Linked DNA regions of Homo sapiens: region 1 is linked to region 2. Evidence: promoter capture Hi-C in human tissues and cell types (Jung and others, 2019). All regions are on one chromosome and are shown on one strand. Each heading gives the region's core, a stretch centred on a gene start or on the middle of the fragment in contact. The rest is flanking DNA. Distances are from core to core; before and after follow the strand shown.

Region 1 (2,908 bases), core at 310-2,809, 39 kb after region 2:
AAGGCATACAGAGTGGCATAACGGACTTCAGAGATTCAGAAAGAGGAGGGTAGGGAGGTGGGGATAAAAAACTACACATTGGGGCCAGGAGTGGTGGGTCATGCCTGTAATCCCGGCACTTTGGGAGGCCGAGGCAGGTGGATCACCTGAGGTCAGGAGTTCGAGACCAGTCTGAGCAACATGGAGAAACCCTGTCTGTACTAAAAAAATACAAAATTAGCCAGGCATGGTGGTGCATGCCTGTAATCCCAGCTACTCGGGAGGTTGAGGCAGGAGAATGGCTTGAACCCAGGAGGTGGAGGTTGCGGTGAGCAGAGATCGCTCCATTGCACTCCAGCCTGGGCAACAAGAGTGAAATTCCGTCTCAAAAAACAAGAACAAAAACAAAAAAACACTACACATTGGGGCCAGGTGTGGTGGCTCATGCCTGTAATCCCAGCACTTTGGGAGGCTGAGGCGGGCAGATTGCTTGAGCTCAGAAGTTCGAGACCAGCCTGACCAACATGGCAAAACCTCATCTCTACTAAAAATATAAAAATTAGCCGGGCATGGTGGTACGTGCCTGTAATTCCACCTACTAGGGAGGCTGAGGCAGGAGAAGCACTTGAACCCAGGATACAGAGGTTGCAGTGAGACGAGATCTTGCTACTGCACTCCAGCCTGGGCAACAGAGTGAGACTGTCACAAAAAACAAAACCAAAAAACTACATATTGAATGCAACATACTCTAAAACATACACTGATGGGTGGACTACAGTCTCAGAATTTACTACTACATAATTCATCGTGTAACAGAAACCACTTGTACCCCAAAAGCTATTGAAGTAAAAATTCAAAAAAAAACAAAAAAATCTTAATATTTAAAAATATTATTACCTAATAGTAGCAGTGTTGATCCTTATAATTAAAATATTGTACATGTTATAACTTTTTACTTGAGACCAAATCAAAATTCAATTTTTCCACATGTGCTGAAAATGCGATAGAAAGCTAAGTCCTGATACACGTCGGTTAGGTCAAGCTTCTGCTTCATCTTTTTCAAATTTTTGAATTGTCAATAAATAAATTTTGTCTGCTTTTTTTTCTTTTTCTTTCTTTCTTTCTTTTTTTTTTTTTTTTTTTTGAGACACAGTCTCGATCTGTTGCCCAGCCTGGAGTATAGTGGTGCGATCTCGGCTCACTGCAACCCCTGCCTCCCGGGTTCGAGCAATTCCCCTGCTTCAGCCTCCCGAGTAGCTGGGGTTACAGGCGCCCGCCACCATGCCCAGTTAATTTTTATATTTTTAGTAGAAACGAGGTTTCACCATGTTGGCTGGGCTGGTCTCGGACTCCTGACCTCAAGTGATCCACCCACCTCAACCTCCCAAAGTGCTGGGATTACAGGCGTGAGCCACTGTGCCCGGCTTGCTTTTTCTTTCTTTCTTTTTTTTTTTTTTTTGAGACGGAGTCTCGCTCTGTCGCCCAGGCTGGAGTGCAGTGGCTCGATCTTGGCTCACCGCAAACTCTGCCTCCCAGGTTCACGCCATTCTCCTGCCTCAGCCTCCCGAGTAGCTGGGACTACAGGCGCCCGCCACTACGCCCGGCTAATTTTTTGTATTTTTTAGTAGAGACGGAGTTTCACCATGTTAGCCAGGATGGTCTCGATCTCCTGACCTGGTGATCCACCCGCCTCGGCCCCCACAAAGTGCTGGGATTACAGGCGTGAGCCACCGCGCCTGGCCCTGGCTTGCTTTTTCTAACAATACAAGACATAATAAAAATAATATTGACATTTAAGAGGACACTCCCATGTGTCAAGCTTTGCTCTAAGTACTTTACATACATGAGGTCATTTAAACCCCACATCAAATAGTACATAGTCCCAATCTTGTATATTTGATGTATATTTACATTTATTTGATATAAATATACAAGATTGGGGCTATGCACTATTGTATCCATTTTACAAAGGAGAAATTGGGTCACAGAGAATTTTGTTGTTGTTGTTGATTTTCTTTTCTTTTTTTTTTTTTTTTTGTTTGTTTCATTTCTTTTTTTTCTTTTTCTTTTTCTTTTTTCTTTTTTTTTTTTTGAGACTGTGTTTCACTCTTGTTGCCCAGGCTGGAGTGCAATGGTGTGATCTCAGCTCACTGCAACCTCCACCTCCTGGGTTCAAGCGATTCTCCTGCCTCAGCTTCCCGTGTAGCTGGGATTACAGGCATGTACCACCACGCCCGGCTAATTTTGTATTTTTAGTAGAGATGGGGTTTCTCCACGTTGGTCAGGCTGGTCTCAAACTCCTGACCTCAGGTGATCTGCCCACCTCAGCCTCCCAAAGTGCTGAGATTACAGGTGTGAGCCACTGCGCCCGGCCCCTCATTTCTTTATTTTTTAATTTTTTTCACAGAGAATTTAAGCAGCTTTCTAGGGTCACTAACGCATGAGAGGTGGAGCTGGGATGTGGATTCAGGCAGACAGGCTTTGGATCAGAACCACCATACGATTCCCCTATAGATCCCTGTGTCTGCACTCACCAACCAGTTACATAGGTGAGTCACGCATCCTTTCCATGACCCGGTGGCTCTCAGCAAAATGGAGGGGACAACAGCATCCACTTCTTCAGGTCATTCAAAGGGTTAAATGATGAACAGGTAACGAATGCCAATTTTGTGTGTGTGTGTGTGTGTGTGTGTGTGTGTGTGTGTGTGATGGAGTCTTGCTCTGTTGCCCAGACTGGACTGTAGTGGTGTGATCTTAGCTCACTGCAGCCTTTGCCTCCTGGTTTCAAGCGATTCTTGTGCCTCAACCTCCTGAGTAGCTGGGATCACAGGCGTGCACCACCATACTTGGCTAATTTTTGTATTTTTAGTAGAGACGCATTTTCACCATGTTACCCAGCTTGCACTCGAACCCCTGACCTCAAGTGATC
Region 2 (2,700 bases), core at 81-2,580:
ATTTCTAATAGAGACAGGGTTTCACCATCTTGGCCAGGCTGGTCTTGACCTCCTGACCTCGTGATCCACCTGCTTTGGCCTCCCAAAGGGCTGGGATCACAGGCGTGAGCCACTGCCTGGCCTTTTTTATTCTCTTTTTTTGGTGATCTTAAAGCCTAACAATGAAAAGTATGCCCACATATCTGGACAAGTTGGTATATATGGAAAAATAAAAAAATTTTAAAAAGCATGCCCACAGGAATCAAGCAAACCCGACCCTGCCACTTACTTTTTTTTAACGAGACAAAGTCTCACTTTGTTGCCCAGGCTGGAGTGCAGTGGCATAATCAGGGCTCACTGCAGCCTCCACTTCCTGGGCTCAAGCGATCCTCCTGCCTCAGCCACCTGAGTAGCTGGGACTGCAGATGCATGCCACCATGCTGAGCTATTTTTTTGTATTTTTAGTAGAGATGGGGTCTTGTGTTTCCCAGGCTGGTCTCAAACTCCTGGACATAAGTGATCCTCCCGCCTCTGCCTCCCAAGATGCTGCGATTCAGGCATGAGCCACTATACTTGGCCGACCCTGCCACTTACTAACTGTGTAAGCTTAAGGCAAATGACTTCATGACTCAGAGCTTCACTTTCCTCACCTGTAAAATGGGAATGAAAGTCACTGACCTCATGAGTTGTTCTGAGGTGTAAATAACATCAGGTGTGCAAATCCCTTTGCACAGGGCTGGGCACAGAACAATGACTTAATAAGTGGCAGCTATTGTTATTAACGTCATCATTATCATCACCACCACCACCATCATCACCACCATTATCACAATGAGCATCCATAGAAAAGAATGATGGTAATCTCAACAATGACATCATCCCACTTTCCCTTTTCATTTTTCTTCCTTTTCTCTCCTTCTCTTTGCTCCTGACTTTTGATTTTACCCCCACCCATTTATCTCACTGGCTTACATGACCCCACCAGGGTCCTTGGAATTTCTTATACCTTCTCAGCTCCTGCTCTATCCACCTGTTCCCCTGGTTCTGTGGCACCATCATGTCCCCTTCTTTGTCCCACACCCCTGCTCCCTTTGCCCCGCCCACCGCCCTTCCCCCTCACTCCCCACCTCACCCGCTGTTTCTCAGCAATGCCTTTCCTCAAGAAGATGCAGGCGGGGCCCATGGGGAACTGCATGGAGGGGTGGGGTGGAGCTCGCAGGGCACCAGTCTCAAGATGGCCCCTCCTCCCTGCTCCCTGTCGGAGCTCAGCCTCCTTATCTTCTCCAGCACTCCTTTGCCACCTCTTCCTGCCTCTCTTGGCTTCTCCTTCGGTCCCGGTGTCTTAGAGCTGTGACAGCTGGGCTGGAAATCTCTACCCGGGTTGGGGAGGGACCAGAGCTGTCCCTGCCTCCCCATCTGGCTTGAATGATATGGGTGGGGAAATGCAGAGTCAGGTTCTGTGACGCCTTTATCCCCAGAGTGGAATTGGAAAGTGCATTTTATAAATGGGGATTAGAGGCTGGATGTGGTGCTCATGTCTGTAGTCCCAGCGCTTTGGGAGGCTGAGGTGGGAGGATTGCTTGAGCCCAGGAGTTTGAGACCAGCTGAGCAACATACGGAGAGGCTGTCTTTACAAAAAATAAAAAAATTAGCCGTGCATGGTGGCACACACCTGTAGTCCCAGCTGCTCCAAAGGCAGAGATGGGAGGATTGCTTGAGCCCAGGAGTTCAAGGCTGCAGTGAGCTATGATTGTACCATTGCACTCCAGGCTGCAGTGAACTACGATTGCACCATTGTACTCCAGCCTGGCTGACATAGTGAGACCCTGTCTCGAAAAAAAGAAAAAAAAAGAAAAAAAAGAAAAGAAAATGGAGGATTAGAGCAGACGGCATCATTTATTCAATGTTCCAACAAGCATGTGAAGGGTCACTCCAACACTGGCCTCTGGGCAGTGAGATGGAGAGCTCAGCACCCCTGGCCTCAGGGAGTTTTCCTGGGTGAGTCGGGAATGTGTGAGAGTGAGCAGGATGCAAGCATGGACTTCAGGAAGTGGGCGTACACGGTGACTAAGAGCATGGCATTTGCTCTTCCTCTGTTCATCTCTTTCCTTCTGTCTTTCCTGAATGATTTAGAGGGAAAAAGCAAGGTGGGGGTGTCAGGGAGGGTGTGAAGTTATGGTGGTGTCAAAGCCCAAAGGGGTTTTGCGACTCCACACTAGGTAGGGTTAGGGGAGGAGGGGGCTGGGGGCCATCTGGCGTGGAGAGCCAGCATTCCAGTGGGGTAGTGGGGTGAGGAGAAGTCCACATAGAGGGGCAGCATGACCCAGGGTGTTGGGGCTGGAGATGGTGGGGATAAATCCACAGATGGGCAGCTTGGTGTGCAGTGTTGGAACATGAGCTGAGTGGGGCGGGGGCATTTATATGCAGGCATTGTCTGGGGTGGAGGTTTGCACTGTAAGGCAATTAGGAAGGAGGCCACATAGAGGGGATCTGGCATGGGTTGTCATAACCCAAGCAGAGAGAGAAATGTCCACTCATGGGAATAGCATGGTGTATGGTGTTGAAGCCAGACTAGGCTGGGAAAGACATCCCCACAGGGGTGAAATGGCAAAGGAAAAGGGAAATTGGCTACACACAGTGAGTAAGGGGAATGGGGGCCAGGTCTCCTACTGTTGGAAAAGGGAGTTACTAAGACAGAAAGGAGGAAAGTCGAATGAGCCC

The links. The method cuts DNA at HindIII sites, captures the fragments that hold promoters and counts their contacts. A contact is called where the count stands out against the background at its distance.
Region 1: a fragment that was not itself captured here is called in contact with the fragment with the promoter of CABP5 in region 2 in 3 of the 25 tissues and cell types used here (H1 embryonic stem cells, aorta and hippocampus).

Annotation. Positions count from the first base shown.
Region 1 is chr19:48,081,394-48,084,301 of GRCh38, forward strand. All of the region lies in intron 10 of PLA2G4C (phospholipase A2 group IVC), which reads right to left. Among named protein-coding and RNA genes, the nearest start is that of PLA2G4C-AS1, 21 kb to the left of the region's middle. The HindIII fragment of the contact is 3,491 bases long and covers 1-2,908 here.
Region 2 is chr19:48,042,749-48,045,448 of GRCh38, forward strand. It overlaps CABP5 (calcium binding protein 5), which reads right to left and starts at 1,331. Exons shown (of 6, transcript NM_019855.5): 1 at 1,112-1,331. The coding sequence starts at 1,174. The HindIII fragment of the contact is 5,918 bases long and covers 1-2,700 here.